Regions from separate parts of the Homo sapiens genome. Here region 2 is linked to region 1. The links are contacts of gene promoters, found by promoter capture Hi-C in blood cells and fetal thymus (Javierre and others, 2016). All regions are on one chromosome and are shown on one strand. Each heading gives the region's core, a stretch centred on a gene start or on the middle of the fragment in contact. The rest is flanking DNA. Distances are from core to core; before and after follow the strand shown. Region 1 holds the start of SLC12A2 (solute carrier family 12 member 2). Region 2 overlaps CCDC192 (coiled-coil domain containing 192).

Region 1 (4,687 bases), core at 830-3,329:
TCTGTAATTACCTCTGTGTGAATGTTACATTATCAAACACTGGGACAAGTACAATCTTGTATGAAATCACTGTATGAGATCAAATAATCATATCCAAAAGAAATCACATACTGGATTTAAACTTGTCCAAACTGTGATCATTTCAACCTATGTGGTACCATCCTCTTGCGTTCACAAATTCCATCAATGTAGTCATTACACACTTGTAAAGGAAGACTTCAAGTAATCCCGGCTCATAAAAAAGTTAAACATTAACGAAATCTCAAAAGCATCAATGTTATCTCAAAACAGTGACATTGAACGCTGAAGAAATAAGTCTTATGTGACCATAAAAAATAGTTACAAAAATCAATGAGTTTATGGGGATGGTTTTCTGTTTACAAAGTGTAACTGCTTATGGCAAAGACCCCACAGGTCTTTCTGGTCATCCTCTACAGAAAAACCAATTCTCCTGTTTCCCTTTTTTCTTTAAAGACTCGCCTCTGTCCCTTTTTTTTTAAATATACACCTCTCCCAAAACGTTTTCATCGCAAAAAAAAAGAGTTATGCCATTATTAGGAACAGCGTGTCCCAAGACAAGATCTCTATGATCCTTTGTATATTCAAGATTGCAAGAATTGAGCTTTAATAACTCATAGACCATAAACACACCCTGTTAAGGTTTTCCTTCAAACAGCAACATTCCCACTCTTGCGATCCCTAATAGGCGTACATAAGCCACACAACACAATCTTTCAAAACGACACAGATGGTAGGTGCTCTCCAACCTCTCTCGAGAGATCCTCACTGCACATTCTCCTCTAAAGGGCCCACAAACACTACTGTCATTCAGAGGGATGGTGACTGTTGAGCGTGGGTGGGAAAGAAAGTGCACACGAGATACCTAACTGGATGGGGAAGGTTGTTAGAGGCAGCCCTCCGGTATCACGTAACTAGCCAAACCCGCTACAAACTTTTGAGAGATTAAGTTAACATTCCTCGGCAATTCCACCCTTGACAGCTGAATCCAGAGATGCCAGCAAGTCGTGCACGTCTACTACTCCCGCCACCTCAACTCGGGAAGAGTCTGCAGCCACATCCCGCGGTCGGCATGCACCAGGGGCTGGGGAAGAAGGGAGGGCTGGGCGAGCTCACCTTTTCCAGCTCGTCGTGGAGCTCCGCCAGGCTAGGCCGGAGCAGCTTCTCGCCCAGCTGCGCGGCTGTGTGCCGGTAGTGATCGATCCTGGGCACAGCGTCCATGGTGTTGTGGCCGAAGGTGCGCAGGTAGTAGGTGTTGGTGTGGGTATCATAATAGTAGTGCTGGTGGTGCCCACTGCCGCCGCCGCCGCCGGAGTGCAGGCTGCTGCCCTCGCTCAGCACCGTGTCCCCGCCGTTCTGGAAGCTCACGTTGGGCCCGTCGACTCCGACCCCGGCAGCATCTGACAGGCTGTCTTCAGCCGACGAGGAGGCAGCTGGGTCCACGAAGTTCACGCGGAAGCGGCCCTTGGCTTCCTCGCTGCCTTTAGCCGGCTCGCTCTCGCCGCTGGCTTCCCCGTCCGCGGGGGTCTGCTTGGCCCCCGCCCCAGCACCAGCCGCCGCCGCTGCCGCCGCCGCCGCCGCCGCCGCAGCAGCGGCCCGCCCGGCGTTCTCGGAAACCAGGTCCACCTGGAAACGGCTCTGGCTCGGGGTGGGCCCCAAGGGTCTGCCCAGCCCGTCCCCGGCCGCCGCGGGGCCCTCATCGCGGACCCCGCCGCCGTCCCGGCTCGCGGGCGCAGCATCCTCCGGCACCGAGGGCACAGCCGTGCCGGGCAGTTCCACCCTGGCTGCGGCCAGCGCAGCGGCTGACGGCGTCTCCCCGACCCCGGCCAGTCCCGGGGCGCCGGAGGAGGGCGCCGTGGGCCGCGGCTCCATAGCTGCCCGACCCCCGGCGGAACTGCAGAGCCCGGCGGACGTCTCCGGCAGCACGCCCTCCACACCCCTGGCCGGCGGTGGCCACAGCCGCAAGACCAGGTGAGAGAGTCTTTCTCCCCGCCGCCTGCGGGCCGCCGCTAGCCTGGACGGCCACAGAGGCCACCGGCAGCCGAGCGAGCGCGCGAGTGTGGCGGGCGCGGGGCGGGCCCCGCTGTTTAAAGCCTCGGCGGGGCTGCGGCGGCGGCGGCTCCGGCAGCAGCACGCGGGAGGCGGGGCCGGAGGCTCCTCCGCCCCTCAGCCCGCCCACCCGCGGTCCCGCAGCGGCGCGCGGCTGACGCTCCCTCAGCGATCCGGCCCTCCGCGGCTCCTGCGCGACCCCACGCAAAAGCGCCCCGTGCGAAGAGCGCGGCCAGCCAGTCCGCAAAGGGCCTCGGGCAGTGCGGGCAGCACGAACGGCGCGATCGGGGAGCAGGCGCGGCTACGCTCCGCCTCAGTGATGTCGCCGGGAGGATCTCCGCGCGGCTACCTCCTCTTCCGCCGCCTTCCTCCCACGCCTTCACCTCCCTCCCCCGCCGCGCTCTGCGGCGAAAAGGAGCGGGCTCCCAGGCCACCTCCCCTCTCTCCACCCAGGGGCCGCGCGTCAGTGGACCTGCAGCCCAGGCAACGGGGCTGCGGACGGCGCGCGTGCCCTGCCTCGCCTCACGCCGGTAGCTGATGCTCCCGCGGCAGCTGCCACCCCAGCGCCCCAGCCACGGCTTCAGAGGCTCTCGCACGCTGGCTTTTTTTTTTTCCCCCCGCTTTGGTGAACTCGCAGTACTTGGGCTGAGCCCGAAATCTCGCGAGATGCTGCAGGCGTCAGTGCGGCTTCCCACTAGGCGCGTGGTACCCGAGGCCGGGCCGGAGCCGCAGGCCAGCCGCGATTCCTTCGGGCGATGCTGGGGGCTTTCCGGTCGGGGCCGCAGCCGCTTCCGGAGCCGCGGGCGAGGTGCGTTCCCCAGCCTGGTTTGCTCTGGGCTCTGACCCGCCGCCGCGAATCTCCGCTCGTAACTCCGGGCCTGAACCTGGAGGAGGGAGGATTTCCTCTGTGCAGCTTTCGAGCGGTAGACTCACCCTGCCAGGCAGACCTAGATTGGCATAACCAGAGATCAGTTCCAGTTGTGATGCAGTGGGTGTCTACACACTTCTGATGACACCTTTATTTTAAAAGCTGATGTTCCAAGGTGAGAAGGGAGCTTCTTTGAGACGTCATGTTGTTTCAAGACGAGTTTTAATTTAAGGCATTTCCAAAAGTGATATGCAGCTCATCTCTCAGAATACAATGCCGGCAATAACTACCCGTGGAGTCCTTACCAGGAGGTTTCTGCGTGATTTGGGTTGTGCAGAATTCCTCTGCTTATATAGAAACAGAAAGGTACTCCTCTGCAGGTCTAGTTTCTCTTCGGTAAAATGTAAGGGAATATAACTGTGTTCCCACTTTCTTAGCAGCAGAAATTTTTAAACCTATAGATTATGCCCAAAGTCCTAAGTAAAATCAATGAATGGCGTCCTCCAATTACTTGGTTTTTATTTATGTACTTTTTTTTTTTTTTTTTGAGACGGAGTCTCGCTCTGTCGCCCAAGCTGTAGTGCAGGGGTGCGATCTTGGCTCACTGCAAACTCCGCCTCCTGGGTTCACGCCATTCTCCTCCTGCCTCAGCCTCCTGAGTAGTTGGGACTACAGGCGCCCGCCATCACGCCCTGCTAATTTTTTGTATTTTTAGTAGAGTCGGGGTTTCACCGTGTTAGCCAGGATGGTCTCGATCTCCTGACCTCGTGATCCGCCCACCTCCGCCTCTCCAAGTGCTGGGATTACAGGCATGAGCCACCGCGCCCGGCCCTTGTATTTTTAAACTTTGACTTTATGGAGACGAACACCATCGTTTGCTGAACACTTGAAACATGATGAAAGAGCCACAGAGTTGGCAGAACTGTTTGAAAATGCTGTAAGTAAAAGCTGCAACCAGGCAATTTTCAAAAAATTGTCATAAACATGATCTTACTTGAACTTGACAACTTTTCAGGCTATTTTATTATCTCTATTTTTAAAGACGGTGAGAGGGGAAAACAGCTGTTGCATCAGGATTTTTAAAGCTCCTTTTGAGCTTTAGTAATAACCAGAGGAGGCCAGAAAAATGAGGTGGTCCTTTAAGCAGTGCAGTTTTCTACTAGGGAATTGCTGCATTAGTAGTTGATCCGTGCAGTACCTTTCAGCTCCACAACGAATTCTGCCACTATTGGAATTCAACATTCATTTAGTTGAATAAATACTGAACAGGTACTATGAGCTACTCTGTATTTACGGGATATAGCAGTGAGCAAAACGGACAATCCCATCTCTCATGGAGTTCTTTCTAGTGAGAAAGAGAAACAATAGACAAGATAAATAGGTAAAATACATAGCATCCAAGCAGTGAGTACTAAGGAAAGGGAAATGGGATATTTGTGTGAAATGAGGATCATAAAATTTTCCATAGGATGGCCTCACTGAGAAGGTGATATTTGAGTAAGGAAGTGAGTGATATGAGTTCTTGGGAAAAAAAGTGTCTGAAGCAGAGGGAAACCAAAGACCCAAAGGCAGGAGCATGCTTAGCATGCTCACGGAATTGCATGTAAGCCAGTTTGGCTGGAACTTGCTTAAGAGATGTGAAGAATCAAAGGCAATTACATCAGAGAGCTTAGGATATGGGATGTAGTAGATCAGAATGTTTAGGACCTTTTTTGGCTGTTAGACATACTTGACTTTTTTAGTAGAATAGTG
Region 2 (4,687 bases), core at 1,261-3,760, 140 kb after region 1:
CAAATATGGGAAATTTCTTGCTGTGGTTGAAAACAGAGGCTACCGATAGTACCCACGTTTTTTGGGTTTCTTTGGTGGTGGGGTAGTGAAACTCTGGAGTCAATATCAACAAGTCATCTTATGTGAGTCAAGAACTCAATTAATTCCTTTTTTGTTTTTGAAAAATCACATTTGGAAACTGTGTTTTGTAGATAGTTGGGATCCATAATCAGATTATGCAATAGGTAAATAGTGTAGAAGACTCACCCCAGATTTCAAGGAGAAATCTCCTTCTGGGGATTGTCTATTAGTCTGGGAGCAAAAGTATAATAGGTCTGCTTGAAGCCATCCCTAAGCCAATGTGGCCTAAATGTAGTTTCTGGAATAAATTCATCAGGAATACCACATGTGTTTATTAAAATGCATATTCCTGGGCCCTAAACTAGAGGCCAGGAATATACATTCTTGCTGATTACTCATGCTCAGTATATCTGAGAACCTCTGCTGAAACAATGCTGATCAGGTTTACCCCACTTTCACCCACTTCCCTTCTCCCATTTCCCATCTCTCAATACAATCAGCCTTACTTTAAGGAGATCCTTGTGTGTCTATGAACTTCTGGATGGTGAAAATGGTGATTCTCATGTTTGCTGTGATTTCTAACATCTACAGTTGTGCCTTCCAGATAGAAGAGTATTTGATGAGGATTTGTTGAACTGGTTGAATTAAATTGAGAACTAGCATTACAGTCATACTCATGAAACTAGAGCTGTTTGCCTGAGTCATGCTGTACCAGAACAGGAAGAACTAAGGACCGAAGTCTTCCTCACAGTTAGTGCCTAGCTGCTCCCTTTGAGTGGAAAATAGTTTATTTGAAGGGGTTGAGTGGAAGAGGAATATGATCCGATTTCTTTTATTCCATTAATTACAGGGCAGGTTTCCGTTGCCCATTCTCCATTATTCCTGCCAGTGTTTTGCACTGTTCACAGCTCATTGGTACAATCATAACAGAAGATTGTATTTTGCTTTGGTTTTAGTCTTGTTCCTAAGGGAAAAATCAGTGTTGTGTGTTTTCCCAGGGAGATGCTGTACCAGGACACTTTTCCCAAAGGAATGCAGCTTTGATTCACCCATTTTTAATTTTTTTTATTGCTTTAGTTTTATTTCCTTTCTATCCTTGCTAATGTTAATAAAATGCATGCCATAAAGAAATAAACTCCTGAGGACATGAAAGGACAGACCTCATGGCTATTTACTCTGCTGACGGCTCCTGCTCTTTAGCTCCTGCTCTTTAGTACCCGCGCATTCACGAGTTTGAAGCTGGCCCTCCGCGACAGCTTTCTGTTCACAATAGAGCTGCATACTAAACGGGGTTGGTGCCACCCCTCCCTTGCAGTGTGACAAATCTCTGCTAAGAGGATAATGCTAAGTTCTTTCACCATCTGTCTAGTTTTGTTTTCTTCCCTCCCCCACTGCTACCAGGAATGTCTAAAAACATAGTATTCTACAGCTGCGTGGTTTACGTGACTATTACTGTCCAAAGGGGAAACATTCAGTGTTTGCTCTTGAACATTTCCTTTTTTTTGTTTCCTTCCAATACGAACATGATAGTATACATTCAAACACATGAACTTGAACTTGAGTTTGTCACCTAGGAGACTATTTGGTATCAGACTTTACCTGGATGACACTTAATAAACTTTTATTGTTTTCTTATTGGGAATCTACAAATTCTCATCAGAGACCACAGGTGGGATGTCATGAGTAGAGAAAACTGGGGCTTCTGGTAAACATCCTGGAGGGTCCTTGACCTCTTGGGGAGGATGGGGACTCCGCTCAGCTTCCAGCTGCTGAATCTTCCTTTCCTTTTCCTCCAAAACTTCTTTCAGCTGAGTAATTCTCTCAGTCTGAAGGGAAACCTGGGTTGACAGTTCCATTATCAGGCTAATTTTTCTATCACCTTCTTCCACAGGTGGGAGACCTCCACAGAACCCTTCCAGCAAGCTGTCTTCTAAAGCAAACAAGAAAAGGAAAGTCTGAGCAGTTTTGATTAGATTTCCCAGAAGTCAAAGCAAGGAAAAATGAAAAAGCTTCATTTCTCACGTTCTTAAAAGAGAGCACAGATGTTGCATCATCTGGTTAGATACCCTGAGAATAAAATCTGGATCCAGTGAGAGGAAAGATTCTGGGTGCTCATGAAAAAAGAAACAAAACAAAACTTGGGAGCCTCTTGAGAGTGTACAGCATCAGCCCTTGCCAACTCTTGTTTATATGCATTTAACTTTCAGTTAACCATGGGAATAATTCATGAAAATCCAATCTACAAACAAAGGCCATCCTAACGTTCATGTTATTCTTTTCCCTAAGAATCTTTCACAAGAGCTATAATCAAGTAGAATTATGCTTTGATTTGAATTCTAATTCAATTGAAAATAAAAAATGAGGGCCGGACGCGGTGGCTCATGCCTGTAATCCCAGCGCTTTGGGAGGCTGAGGTGGACGGATCACGAGGTCAGGAGATCGAGACCATCCTGGCTAACACGGTGAAACCCGATCCCTACTAAAAATACAAAAAATTAGCCGGGCGTGGTGGCAGGCGCCTGTAGTCCCAGCTACTCGGGAGGCTGAGGCAGGAGAATGGCGTGAACCCAGGAGGCAGAGGTTGCAGTGAGCCGAGATCATGCTACTGCACTCCAGCCTGGGCGACAGAGCGAGACTCTGTGTATAAATAAATAAATAAATAAATAAATAACGAAAAGGTTGCCATTGCCCTTTCTGGGGAAAGTGATAATGAGGAAAGACTAGTTTCTTAACCCAAGTCAGCTTTAGAGTCGGCAAGGATGCAATTTGAGGTGATCCAGGAAAACTCTATTAGCATGGTATTTCCCATACAGATTCATTTCTTTTAGGCCTGAAGTCTTTTTGGCACTTCTTAATAAAATCACAGATACCTCTTGGACATGAAAGCTTATCCTTTATCAATTTCTATCAGTTAACCACTCAGATGAGGATAAAGGCCTGAGTCAGAAAGGACAGAGAGAGGTTCCACAAAGAGATAAAAGATGAGTGGCCATAAGGAGTCCTTGAAAACACACCTCTCTAGCCCATCAAAAAATGCAGCACCTTAAACTCAAGTCCATCTTACTAGCCTTTAGCAGTACCCCACCACTCTCAAAATTTCCAGCATTAAATGTCTCGGAGCTATATAAAAGGCAGACTTAGGTATAAGTAGGAAGAGATATCAAGGGCTTGGGTATCATTTCAGCACTAATGGAGCTTATGGCATGTATGAATGAACCTGATGCGTGGTCTCCACGGTAGATTGTTACAATTGAGGTCCCACATTTATGAGATTCCCAGTGAAAACAAATCTCACAGCTTCACCTGAGAGAAACATTACTGTCAGTCTCAGATACAAAAGCCTGCTGCTATTAGGTACCTATACACCTGCTGAAAATGGACCAGCTTTGCTGTAGTAGTGCGCGCAGGCAAAAAAAAAAAAAAACATAAAAATAACCCGTTTCTCAACAAATAAAATTAATTGGCAGTCATCACATTCCCAAGGGATCAAGGGGTAAAATCTTTGGCAGCATATTGCACAGTGGGCAGGGTGTTTTTGGCTTCATAAAAGTGATAAGAGGAGACAACAGGCTATTCTCTGCTCTTAGAAATTATTAGCTCTTTACTAACATTTAAGAATCCATGGGGAAATTTTTGCTCTGAATTTGTTAGAATGTTTAATATTATAACAATAATATTTAAGATGTTGGTTTGAAGGTGGGGCACGGTGGCTCACGCCTGTAATCCCAGCACTTTGGGAGGCTGAAGCAGGTGGATTACTTGAGGTCAGGAGTTTAAGACCAGCCTGGCCAAATGGTGAAACCTCATCTCTACTAAAAATACAAATATTAGCCAGGTGTGGTGGTGCACACCTGTAATCCCAGCTACTCGGGAGGCTGAGGCTCGAGAATCACTTCAACCTGGGAGTTGCAGGTTGCATTGAGCTGAGATTGTGCCACAGCATTCCAGCCTGGGCGACAGAGTGAGACTCCATCTCAAAAAAAAAAAAAAAAAAAAAAAAAGATGTTGGTTTGAGTGCCTTTCATAAGTTAACAAGCAACGGGAAAACAGCTCAAATTTCAAAAAAGCATTTAGTTCATTGCCTCTGCGATAAGCCTGTGCTTTCCAGCCCAGGAGAGAGAGTCCATATGGCAGGAGGCCTTCCTCATCTCCTGGTGTGCCAAGCTCTCACCTTTCCTTTCATGCCTGTGCTTTCCAGCCCAGGAGAGGGAGTCCATATGGCAGGAGGCCTTCCTCATCTCCTGATGTGCCAGGGTCTCACCTTTCCTTTCATTTGGCTGGAGCTGTGCTGTCCAATACAGTAGTCACTAGTCACATGTGACCATTAAGCAATGGAATGTGGCTAGTCTGAATAAAAATGTGCTTTAATGTAAAATACACATTTGACTGGGAGATTTAGTTTAAAAAATGTTAAATACTTCAAATTTTCTATATTGCTTATGCATTAAAATGATAATATTTAGAATACATTGTGTTAAAGAAAATGTATTTTTAAAATAATTTAACTGACTTATTTTTATGTTTTTAAAAATGTGGCTCCTAGAAAATTTAAAATACATGGCTTGCATTTGTGGCTCCCATTATATTTCTGTTGGATAATGCTGGGCTAGCATTTCCTTCCAGATGA

The links. The method cuts DNA at HindIII sites, captures the fragments that hold promoters and counts their contacts. A CHiCAGO score of 5 or more calls a contact.
Region 2: a fragment that was not itself captured here is called in contact with the fragment with the promoter of SLC12A2 in region 1 in 1 of 17 cell types (endothelial precursors); the score reaches 5.5 in endothelial precursors.

Annotation. Positions count from the first base shown.
Region 1 is chr5:128,081,158-128,085,844 of GRCh38, reverse strand. SLC12A2 (solute carrier family 12 member 2) reads right to left here and starts at 2,079. Exons shown (of 27, transcript NM_001046.3): 1 at 1,135-2,079. The coding sequence starts at 1,890. It overlaps SLC12A2-DT (SLC12A2 divergent transcript), which reads left to right and starts at 2,670. Exons shown (of 4, transcript NR_152813.1): 1 at 2,670-2,875. RefSeq lists an enhancer at 926-1,095 and a silencer at 1,586-2,415. The HindIII fragment of the contact is 20,683 bases long and covers 1-4,687 here.
Region 2 is chr5:127,938,485-127,943,171 of GRCh38, reverse strand. It overlaps CCDC192 (coiled-coil domain containing 192), which reads right to left. Exons shown (of 7, transcript NM_001317938.2): 7 at 1,665-1,990. The coding sequence ends at 1,704. SLC12A2-DT (SLC12A2 divergent transcript) reads left to right here. Exons shown (of 4, transcript NR_152813.1): 4 at 1,952-2,732. Among named protein-coding and RNA genes, the nearest start is that of SLC12A2-DT, 140 kb to the left of the region's middle. The HindIII fragment of the contact is 877 bases long and covers 2,072-2,948 here.